Regions from separate parts of the Homo sapiens genome. Here regions 1, 2 and 4 are each linked to region 3. The links are contacts of gene promoters, found by promoter capture Hi-C in blood cells and fetal thymus (Javierre and others, 2016). All regions are on one chromosome and are shown on one strand. Each heading gives the region's core, a stretch centred on a gene start or on the middle of the fragment in contact. The rest is flanking DNA. Distances are from core to core; before and after follow the strand shown. Region 1 overlaps AQR (aquarius intron-binding spliceosomal factor). Region 2 overlaps AQR (aquarius intron-binding spliceosomal factor). Region 3 holds the start of EMC7 (ER membrane protein complex subunit 7). Region 4 overlaps AQR (aquarius intron-binding spliceosomal factor).

What was found. Contacts are between HindIII fragments. The CHiCAGO score rates a contact against its expected background, and 5 or more counts as called.
Region 1: a fragment that was not itself captured here is called in contact with the fragment with the promoter of EMC7 in region 3 in 3 of 17 cell types (total CD4 T cells, activated CD4 T cells and fetal thymus); the score reaches 6.2 in total CD4 T cells.
Region 2: a contact is called between a fragment that was not itself captured here and the fragment with the promoter of EMC7 in region 3, in 1 of 17 cell types (naive CD4 T cells). The highest score is 6.0, in naive CD4 T cells.
Region 4: a fragment that was not itself captured here is called in contact with the fragment with the promoter of EMC7 in region 3 in 1 of 17 cell types (non-activated CD4 T cells); the score reaches 5.8 in non-activated CD4 T cells.

The regions. Positions count from the first base shown.
Region 1 is chr15:34,943,644-34,946,467 of GRCh38, forward strand. AQR (aquarius intron-binding spliceosomal factor) reads right to left here. Exons shown (of 35, transcript NM_014691.3): 6 at 645-785. Among named protein-coding and RNA genes, the nearest start is that of AQR, 25 kb to the right of the region's middle. The HindIII fragment of the contact is 1,420 bases long and covers 834-2,253 here.
Region 2 is chr15:34,925,370-34,928,254 of GRCh38, forward strand. AQR (aquarius intron-binding spliceosomal factor) reads right to left here. Exons shown (of 35, transcript NM_014691.3): 13 at 1,666-1,769. Among named protein-coding and RNA genes, the nearest start is that of AQR, 43 kb to the right of the region's middle. RefSeq lists a silencer at 2,439-2,733. The HindIII fragment of the contact is 5,060 bases long and covers 1-2,885 here.
Region 3 is chr15:34,100,269-34,103,182 of GRCh38, forward strand. EMC7 (ER membrane protein complex subunit 7) reads right to left here and starts at 1,594. Exons shown (of 5, transcript NM_020154.3): 1 at 1,336-1,594. The coding sequence starts at 1,571. It overlaps PGBD4 (piggyBac transposable element derived 4), which reads left to right and starts at 1,815. Exons shown (of 1, transcript NM_152595.5): 1 at 1,815-2,914. The coding sequence starts at 2,264. RefSeq lists enhancers at 738-1,595, 1,205-1,904, 1,935-2,024. The HindIII fragment of the contact is 6,792 bases long and covers 222-2,914 here.
Region 4 is chr15:34,884,331-34,887,265 of GRCh38, forward strand. It overlaps AQR (aquarius intron-binding spliceosomal factor), which reads right to left. Exons shown (of 35, transcript NM_014691.3): 25 at 2,196-2,331; 26 at 195-404. Among named protein-coding and RNA genes, the nearest start is that of AQR, 84 kb to the right of the region's middle. The HindIII fragment of the contact is 1,187 bases long and covers 917-2,103 here.

The DNA.
Region 1 (2,824 bases), core at 294-2,793, 840 kb after region 3:
CCTGCATGGGTGTAAGTGAATTATCAATTCAGAGGCACTAAATAAATATGTGTATTTATCAGCTAACCACACAGGAAAGCTCAAATAAAATATTACTGAAAATATTTAATTTTTTAGAAGATAATCTTATGAAGGATGAAAATGTATCACACACAAGACATTTTCAAAGATCATTTACACTTGGCCTTTATCAGTCAACTCAAAATACAACTCTCCTGTTGACTAACCAGCCTATGCATAAGGCATGATGAAAAGCAATGAAACTACATTCCTGTATGTATATGCAGTTTGTGGCACAGATCTCATTACTCCAATTCCATATAACCAGTCTCCTTGCTGCTTCTCATTTTTGTGCTCTCCCTTTAGAGTTTCAGTTCTTATAATCATTTTTCTTAAGAGTCTAGATAGAAAAAATTAAGTATCAATTTCAAATCTATTAAAAAGTGAACATATCTTATAAAAACATATCTTAAAGACTTATAAAATGGTTTTACTGATAAGTGGCTGAAATCAAGCTTTTAGCATTATCCTTATTGCCTGCTATTATGGATGAATGGAGTTGGCTACAGAGGTAATTTCATCTAAACTCAACCTAAAAGAACAAGAAAACTTGAAAATTACCCCAAAATATAAAGTAAAAGTACCAAACTATTGAAGCAATGATCAAGAAAAAGTAGTAAGACTGTCTGTTCATGAAGTGAAAATTCACCATCAGTTTCAGCTAATGCCGCCTTCAAGATGTGTTTAAAAAAGAATGGGAAGTGGTCTGGCTTCTTCTTAAAAATCTGAAAAGAAACAGAATAAAATTCATTTTGTATTGGCTTGCTCACTTAAGCTTTAAAGAAGCCCTAGTAGGCTTTTTAGCAGTCTATTAAAAAAACCAAATAATTACAAAAGGGTTATTTGTATATGTATAAAAGAAGCATCACGTGCTTACTTATAATTAATGGCAAGTCAAATACAGGTTTCTGACAGGACTATGAGAGAGCTGCAGAACCCTTTAGCTAATAAAATAATGGCTTTCATTTCTTTAGTTTTTCCTCTGTGGATTATGCCTGTATTTAGCTTAGGCTTTGTTTTCTTATTAAGGATCTGAAGTGTTTTAATTTCTCTGATTTAAACAAAAGAAACTACATCTTTAGCAAAAATTGTAGTTTTCACACTGTAATTAATCTCAAGAACAGCCCCTCCTGCTTTATATTAGCTCTTTACTCTTAACTTGTAAATAATGTAAATATATTCAAGCCTCTTTGACCTACCTCTGTTTCTAGTTACTGCCACAGACAAATGCTCCAAGCGTGTGGTCTATACTAGTTGTTTTCATTCACTTCTCTAAGACAAGCTCTCCTGAAGCTGTATGGCTGTCAAGTCCTATGGACCCTTATTAACTCTCAACTCCTTTTCACCATATTGAAGGCTCTTCTTCTTTTGCCTGTTATCTAAACCGCAATATTCGTAGGGTTCTAGCCTCATTCTTCTCCCTCTATTACTTCAACCACTAAATACCAATGATTCCAAATATACATCTGCAGTCCAGATTTCTCTTCTGAGCTCTCAAACCTTAGATTCCTCTACTAGATGACTTAATCTAGATATTCCAAAGGCAATTTAAACTGAATATGTCCAAATTCAATTCAACAGTTTTGTATCCTCCAAATTATTCCTCACTCTCTATTACCTATCTTGGTAAATGGCACCATCATATATTATATTCATTTGCCCAAGCCTGGAAGGTTATTGAAAATAACACCCTTTCCTAATGCTACTTCAACTGATTATCAAATTCAATCAATTCTACCTTCTACATCTCTGTATATCCTCTAAATCTGTATTATCATTTCTCTATTTCAAGGCCTAATCACCAAAGTGATCTTTATAACAGGTAAACTGACCAGGTTATTCCCTGGCTCAAAAAATTTTCCTTCTTCCTTTCTGTATTTCTATAATAGCTTGAAGCAACTTGAAGAAACCCCTAGGCTCTCTTGATAGTGACATAAAACCCATAGTTTATTCTGAGCTCTAATGTGCCCTGAGATGGTAGTCATTTAATGAATATTTGAGATAAGTGTCCATGGTTTTATCTTAAAGACTCTATCACCTTTTCACTTTGGTGACCATTTACTCAAAACAGATGACAGGCATCCATTCCTTTTTTTCATTTAAAAAAGTCTGACTGGAAGAGAAGAAACTCTTGATGAAGTGACCATTATATGGCGGGCAAAGAAAACAAAGATTTTGGATCCCTACTGATCAAGCTTCTGTTGCACCAGCACAAAAAGGAAACATCAGTGCATTAGAAATTTCTAAAAGGAAAAATAGATCCCAAATCAAGGACAAAAAGAACAGGCCAGGCACAGTGACTCATGCCTGTAATCCCAGCACTTTGGGAGGCCGAGGCGGGTGGATCATCTAAGGTCAGGAGTTTGAGACCAGCCTGGCCAATATGGTGAAACCCCATCTCTACTAAAAATACAACAATTAGCTGGGCATGGTGGCGGGCACCTGTAATCCCAGCTTCTTGGGAGGCAGAGGCAGGAGAATTGCTGGAACCTGGGAGGCAGATGTTGCAGTGAGCTGAGATCACGCCATTTGCACTCCAGCCTGGATAACAAGAGCTAAATTCAGTCTCAAAACAAAAAACCAAAAGAACATTGAAATTATAATGTAAGCATCTGTCTTGACTTTGGTAACTTTTTTTATTCATGTAAAACTACAAATATAAACTCCCTCTTGAGGTCGGGGGGGTCAGCCCCCCGCCCGGCCAGCCGCCCCGTCCGGGAGGGAGGTGGGGGGGGTCAGCCCCCCGCCCGGCCAGCCGCCCCGT
Region 2 (2,885 bases), core at 106-2,605, 820 kb after region 3:
CATACGCTGTTAGTTTAAGTGTAAATTGATAGTCTTTTCTGAAGGAAATTTAGCAATATGTAACAAGTTTTAAACGCATGCCCCGTTTGAATCAGCCATTCTGCTTCTAGGAATCAGTACGAAAAGGATGCTCATTGCAGAACTGTTTGTAAAAGCCAAAACTTAAAAATTAAAGATTCACCAAAAGGAGGCCAGGAGCGGTGGCTCATGCCTCTAATCCCAGCTCTTTGGGAGGCCGAGGCAGGATCACCTGAGGTCAGGAGTTTGAGACCAGCCTGGCCAACATGGTGAAACCCCATCTTTGCTACTAAAAATTAGCTGGGCATGGTGGCGTGTGCCTGTAGTCCCAGCTATTCGGGAGGCTGACGCAGGAGAATCACTTGAACCCAGGAGGCAGAGGTTGCAGTGAGCCGAGATCGCACCACTGCACTCCAGCCTGGGCAATAGAGCAAGACTCCGTCTCAAAAAAAACAAAAAAAAAGACTCACCAATAGGAGATTAACTTTTAAAAAAATAAGGCCGGGCGCGGTGGCTCATGCCTGTAATCCCGGCACTTTGAGAGGCTGAGGCGGGCAGATCACGAGGTCAGAGATCGAGACCATCTTGGCTAACACGGTGAAACCCCGTCTCTACTAAAAATACAAAAAATTAGACGGGCGTGGTGGCGGGCGCCTGTAGTCCCAGCTACTCAGGAGGCTGAGGCAGGAGAATGGCGTGAACCCGGGAGGCGGAACTTGCAGTGAGCCACTGCAGTCTGGCCTGGGCGAAAGAGCGAGACTCCGTCTCAAAAAAATAAAATAAAATAAAAATAAATAAAAAAATAAAAAAATAGTATGCTGGTCCTGTTTAATGGAACTCTATGTAGTTATTTAAAATAATGAAATGAATCTATGTGTTATTAATTATATTAAATCCTCATATGAGAATGAACAACCAAACCAACCTCAGTTTATTACATTTTAAATAGTCAAGGAACTAAACATAATTTATCCCAAGAGCTGGGAGATGATACAGTATAGTAGTTAAAAGTTAGGGCTTGGAAATCACACTATCCGGGTTTAAATTGTATCTCTGCCACTTACTTGCTGTGTAACCTAGGCAAATTACTTAACTATTCTATGCCCCAGATACCTTATACGTAAAATGGTACCTACTTCTAGCATGAATGTTTTCAGAGTTGTTTACACACTTAACAGAACGTCTATCACATAGTAAATAAATGTATGCCATTATTATTACTATTTTCAAAAGGATATATTAGCAGATAGCTAACTGCCAGAGGATATTACTAATTTTATAAATTTTAAACATGCAAAAATTTCCCTAAGTCACACCTCTAATATCACACATAATGAATCTTTATTGGTTTTTGTCATATGTCGTTTATGACTGATGAGATTGACCAGCTTTATATTCTACTCTGAGAAAAATTTCAGATCGAAGAAAATTGTATACGTCATAAAAAACAGAAACTTTACCAAACGTGGGTAAGTGACAAAGACACCAAACTGCTGGAGAGAAGCACTAGTTGTAGACGTCAACGAAGAGTGAAATAACAAGTAATATTATCTAAAGTACTGCAAAATGATTAAAAGCAATAAAGAAAAGTAAAATTGAGGGAGCATGATACAAAAAAAGAATATATAGTTTTTCATGTTGTCTTACCTAAGAGGTCCAAAAAACTTGACCAAGGACTCCCGAGTATCTACTTCTGCCACATTTGAGAGGGCAAAATCATAGAGTTCAGGAAAATGTGCAAAAGCAGCTCTCTAGAAAATAATGGCAAAAAATATTAATAATTAATGTCTACATATTAATATAAACATCTACTATTTAAGAATGAAAATATTTTATAAAAATATTAACGCATTTCTGTCTCTTATATGCTTCTTTTATGTGACCTCTACCTTAATCAGACAGAAGCATATAATAAAAAGAGAAAAAACTACAACTGTCATAACAGAAATGTAAAAAACATAAAGTTGGCGTTCAGCTTTTGACATCTAAAAGGATTTTCAATATATACAAAATAGCCACAAAGGCTAGCTTTATTGACAGAAGAGGAGCAAAAAACAAATACACACTTGATTATCAAGAACTGGTCGAACAAGACTAAAAGAAAGTCCCAAGGGAAACTCTGGCTGCAGAGAACTTGGAAGGAGAGACCAAAAAACTTATGCTTGTGCCTTGCTTTTGTTTGGAACTCTGGGAAAAGACCTCACAGGGTAGCACTCTCAACCAACATAGGGTAAGCTGTAAGAAAACAGAAATAGTAGTATTGCACAGAGTGACTGAGATAATATCCCTAGTCTTCCTTGGGATTTAACAACAGAGTGATTGAAATAATATCCCTGTCTTCCTTGATGCCCACATGGCACAGAAAAGATCCGGAAGTTTTCATGTGTTCCATGGTGGATGACACAGAAGGTTGCCAAGGTTGCCATGAGTGAGCTTGCCATGGGATTATGAGATTACTACACACAATGGCAAAATGACTCTGCAACCCAAGCATGAGAATGAACTGTGTAAACAAGGAAATAAACAAGTCAGTCCTCAGGAGAATGCTAGCAGCATCAAGCAAAGTTAGGGCCTCCTCAACAGGGCAAATAGCCAAGTTCCTTGGAAGCAATAATGATGCCTTGCCTGTGTCAATACAATAGACCACATGCCACACCAGCTGTGGTTATTTCAAGGGCAGAGACAGGACAAAAACACTAATGCTCTGAAAAAAGCAGGAAAAGACATCTGCGTTAATCCTTCTTCCAAAACAATAAGGCTATTTTGGTGTCTCCACATACCTAGTAGGAAAGAAGAAAAACAGAGATTTTTTTTTTTCACTTTTTACACCATTATTTATTTATTTTTTCTTCTAAAAAAAATGGGAT
Region 3 (2,914 bases), core at 344-2,843:
AGTTCGAAGCTGCCATGAACTATGATCTCGCCACTGCACTCCAGGCTGAGTAACAGAAAAAGACCTTGTCTCAAAAAAATAAAAAGAAAGATACAATGAAACATTAAGGGTTGTTTTCCTACTTTGTTTCTAATATACTATTTTTAAACAGAAATTAAATGCTTTTTAAAAGAACTGTATACAGAAGAGTGGCCAAATGGTCAATTAAGGCTTATTCCTAAAGCTTAATGAGAACTTTATCATTAAAACATCATTAATTAGGGTAAACTCTAACGAATGCCCTAATGCCAGATTCTTAATGACAGACAGCAGTAAAATACTGGTTGTAAATTTGTCACTATTTATTAATCTGAGGTTGAATAACCACTCAAGGGCACTTAGATGATCTGAACAAATATGTAAATCAGATTTGGATTTAAATGTCTACATTTAAGTTGTCTGATTTTCAGATACCATTTGCTGGTGTACGAACCCACCAAAGGAAATACTTCCTAATTATTTGCTTTCAGTTTACAGTTTCACCTCCAAGTAAGGGTGGAAAGATTTAAAACAACATACGCGTGCCTAGACATTTCAAAAGCAGGCTGCTGCAAAACTAGTGCTAACAAATTCATCCTGTCTTTTAATATAGACAGAAAACCCACTTCCACTAATAGCATGAAAGGACAGAAGCAAGAAAGCAATGTAGAGGAACCCTAGTCTCACATAAATGACAAGTGTGATATAGCAAATCTCTCGATGAATTCAACTGTAAAAAAGAACAACGATCCCACCCCCAAGCAAAAAAAAAAAGAAAAAAAAAGTGCTTTGATTAGGGATTTCAGAGCCTATTAATTTTAGAAGCAGTAACATTAGCCTCCCAGTCTATGTCGTCACTAGAAGCCCTTTGGGTTTTGAGAATTCCCACTTGTGTCGCATCTTTCTACATAATAACAAGCTACCAAAAGACTGAAGTGAATGCAAAAAACGACTAGGTTCTAGGGAAACCAGATGAGATATAAAAGAATCCAACAAGAGACTAATAAGGGTCCACCTGTCCCCAGGGCCCAGGAATGATCGTCCCCACATGGGGCCAAAATAAGGTTGGAAATAACTGACTCCATGCTCTGACCATGGCAGGGGGTGAGCGCCTGCCATGCTCATTCCAGAGGTACAGGACCAGGAAAGGGAAAGCATCCGACTGCCTCCCAAGGTCTCCCGGCATAGACCGTTAGCGGCACCCTCCCCTTCAGTCTGAGACAGCGACGTTGTCCCGTCCTGACACTTAACTCTCCTGGTGGGGTCCCTGTCCGGCCTCCATCCCAGCCTTTTTCCCGCTGCCCTCAGGATGCTCACTTAAGGAAACCGACGTGCTCTTCTCCGTCTACCAGCACTCGGGCCGCCGAGATCCAGTCCTGAGGCTTCACCCCTGGAACAACTGCACGCCCCTCAATCTTGAAGCGATCTCCTATGCCGACCCCACTCCCTCCCGATCCCTCAGCAGCAGCCCCGGGCACCTCCGAGCTCTGGACATCCCCCGATAGCAGCAGCAGCAGCAGGACGGGAAAGAAGCCCCACAGAGCGGCCGCCATGACAGCAGCTCTGCACTCAGACCGGCAGCCCCGGAAGCCCTCCCAGTCTCCCGGCCGCCACCGCCGCCGCTGGCGGCTTGATGTTGTCATCACTGCGCGCCCGTTTCTGTCATAAGCTGTGGGATCCAACCAGAGGGAAGAGATCATGGCCGATCGACTAGCGAGGCGGAAGTAAGGCGGAAGTACTGCCCTTAACTCCCGGCACTCTGGATTGGAAGACGGCGCACAGAGCCTGTGTCAAGTGCCTATGAAGGGGACTGCCCATGAAGTGAAAGTCAAGTGTGTGTTGCTGCGGCAGCCACGGAGGCCAAGGACCTCACGGGAGTAAAAGATGACGAGACTGGCTTCGGGAGAAACACCATCCAGAAGAGACCTTTCAAAAAACTTCTAGAGACTCCCCAAGACGTATGAGATGAAAGGCTTCTTCTGTCTGTGTGCGTTTAACTCATTTCTCCTTAGCCCCGAGATTACGCGCTGCTGTGCCTGCGACTGCAGCGTTTACGCCGAGATAACTCGTGGATTACAGTGCCAACCTTACTCCCAAAGTTTGCCACGAAATATCTCGCTTCTGTTATTTTCGCATGGTTCTGGTATATTGACTTTTGAAACAAAAGACATCATTCTGTTTATAGCATTCTGTTTTTAGTAGTGGGATTTCCATCTACAAAATATAGTAATTCTCGATCGCTGAAATGTCAAATCCTAGAAAACGTAGCATTCCTATGCGTGATAGTAATACCGGTCTCGAACAGTTGTTGGCTGAAGATTCATTTGATGAATCTGATTTTTCGGAAATAGATGATTCTGATAATTTTTCGGATAGTGCTTTAGAAGCCGATAAGATCAGGCCTCTGTCCCATTTAGAATCTGATGGAAAGAGCTCTACATCAAGTGACTCAGGGCGCTCCATGAAATGGTCAGCTCGTGCTATGATTCCACGTCAAAGGTATGACTTTACCGGCACACCTGGCAGAAAAGTCGATGTCAGTGATATCACTGACCCATTGCAGTATTTTGAACTGTTCTTTACTGAGGAATTAGTTTCAAAAATTACTAGAGAAACAAATGCCCAAGCTGCCTTGTTGGCTTCAAAGCCACCGGGTCCGAAAGGATTTTCGCGAATGGATAAATGGAAAGACACTGACAATGACGAGCTCAAAGTCTTTTTTGCAGTAATGTTACTGCAAGGTATTGTGCAGAAACCTGAGCTGGAGATGTTTTGGTCAACAAGGCCTCTTTTGGATACACCTTATCTCAGGCAAATTATGACTGGTGAAAGATTTTTACTTTTGTTTCGGTGCCTGCATTTTGTCAACAATTCTTCTATATCTGCTGGTCAATCA
Region 4 (2,935 bases), core at 260-2,759, 780 kb after region 3:
GGGAGGTGGAGGTTGCAGTGAGCCAAGATCATGCCACTGCACTCCAGCCTGGGCAACAGGGCAAGACTCCGTCTCAAAAAAAAACAAAAAAACAAAAAAACAAAAGATTTGAATATTTCACATTTACTTCAAAAAAAAACTAAACTAAATTAAAAACCACTAAAGGGAAGTTCAAAGAACTTGAGAATCCTTACCTCAAGCTGCGTAAAGATTTTCTTAATATGCCTGAAACATCCTTCAGCAATTTCCATGTCTTCTTCATAAGATCTTCCTTTAAAAATGGGTTGAGGAGCATTTGCAAAGTATTCATGGAAAGGGAAGAAAGTGGAGACTTCCGTAACATCTGGCAATGTACTACCTTTATTTTTCACTTTGCTGATATACTCTTCCCAGCGAGACATTACCTGTAGAAAAAAGGACTTGAAGTTAACTGCCAGCTAATTATGATGTTTTAAAGCATAAAATGAATAAATCTTATAAAAACAAGATCTGCTAGGTGAAAAAGAAAAAAAAAGAAATTCAATCTTTGATCCAATATAACTATTCTTCATTCCTGTAACTGACAGATTGCTCTTCTGTTATAAAAGTAACCTTGTCTTTGGAGAAAAAAAGGCTCTTTAATAACAAATTTCTACAAACTGGAAAGAGCCTTAACATCATCTCATAGAACTCTAACTCCGACAGTTCAGATTCTCCACGTAACTCAAGAGAGTTTATTATTAACGCTTAAAAGAAATGTAAAGGAAAGAAAGCTCTCTGGACAAAGAAATTGCTCATTTTTTTCATCTCTGTTTCTCTCCATATATGGTAAGTTCAGCTTTAGCAGCTTTTTAATCAATTTGGCACTTGTCAACCCTCTGTCAGTTTTTTAGAACATTTATAAAGAACGTCTGGTTAAGCTGAGTGTGTATTTGAAAGCTTATCTTATGACTTTTGTGATTATAGTTCAATTACTTTGTATAATGTTAGCTATGCGTCTACCAGCCAGTTACTATGTAACCTCAATTTCTGTAACTCTCCCAGGTCTTTTTCTGTTACTATCTCAGTGTTTCTCAAAAGTGTAGTCCTTATGCAAAATATCTGAGGAGCTAAATAAAAATGTGGATTCCTGGATTCCACCTCTATTGAATGAGAAGCTATAGGAACAAGGGCTAGGGAATTTAACTCGTAAACAACTTTCCTGATATGATTCTTAAATGTTGAAAACTGCCAATTTACACTGTGAAGCCTCAAGTTCATTCTTCCCAAATTTATTACATAAACCTTCTTAATTTATAGGTTATTTTTCCCACTTTTAAACATTATTTTCACTGAAAGCCAAGTAATTTTGTGTCAAAAAAGCATTTAAGCTGATCTTTACTCCTTTATGCAAGTCCTAAACAGTCTTGAATCTAATGTAGACTATATTATGTATTTTCCCTGCTTCACAAGAAACCATGAAAGCTGCTCATTTTGAATGGACTTAATTGGTTTGTGATATCCACTTACAATGAGCTTACAATATTATAATTTATATCTAAAATATACAATTGGCATTAGAACAAAGAGAACAAATGAAGTTATACAAAAATCTTCATTAGCCAATTATGTCCTAGTCCATTTAAAATTATTAATAATCCAACTGACTATTAAAGTTTAGTTTTATTCACTTTATTTGGCTATTTCTCATTGGTTTTCACACTTCCAAAATTTACCCTAACAAAAGTAAAAGTACATCTTTATGTTGAAGTCAGAAGCCTTTAACTTCAAGACCCACTGTGCAATTAGTTGTAAGACATAATTTATTTCTGGAAATTTGAAGGAAGAATGTTTTCCTTCATTAGTTGATTAATGTATACAATAAAAGTTAACTGTACTTTGTTGCCACTGGCTAGCTAGAATATTTATTTAGTTGTATTTCTACAGTAAAAAAAGAAAAAAGAGTGACTAGAACTTTGCCAATAGAAAGAAAAAAATGTAAAAAGTAGCAACATTGGTCTTTCACAGAATGAGTCATCAAGCAAAGTTATTTAGAAAAGAAAACTGAAGATAATACAAAATACACTTAACATTCATAAATATAGCACTTGCAATACCATACATTCTAATCTACTCAAAAAAATAAGCTTTCATGAAGGATCACAAGAACTCATTCCAGCTTCCAACTGGGGTTCATATTATGATGAAGTATGATTCAAAAACCCTTAATATCTTACCTGGTATAAGAAGAAATAGCCTGCAGTTTCACAGGTATATGAGGCATCTCCTGGAACCCCTAGACTCTTTTGCAATCGTTTGACTTCTTCTAAAAGTTCTATTCTTCGAGCCAGAACATAATTAACTCTTCCATACCTAGACATTTCAATTAGGCAAAATGACAAAACTGTAATAAAGAGACTTTGAAGGAAACAATCAGCAAAATTCAAGAAAATCATAATAGCAAAGAAGAGGAAAAAAAACTAGAAGATATGGCTTCTATTTAACTATTGGTGGTAGTTCTTGGGTTACTTTACACAAAAGCTACTTAAAGTAGGTGGGTCACGGTGGTTCACGCCTGTAATCCCAACACTTCGGGGAGGCTGAGGCGGACAGATCATGAGGTTAGGAGATCGAGACCATCATGGCTAACATGGTGAAACCCTGTCTCTACTAAAAATACAAAAAAATTAGCCGGGCATGGTGGCGGGCACCTGTAGTCCCAGCTACTTGGGAGGCCGAGGCAAGAGAATGGCGTGAACCTGGGAGGCGGAGCTTGCAGTGAGCAGAGATGGCGCCACTGCACTCCAGCCTGGGCGACAAAGCAAGACTCCGTCTCAAAAAAAAAAAAGAAAAAGCTACTTAGAGTATACTCCATGGAACAGTATTGATCTGCAAGGGTGTTACTGGTCTAGGAGGAGGGAAAGTCAACTACATCACCAAATACACCATTTAGTTCAGCTCTCAATCTTTCTTTTCA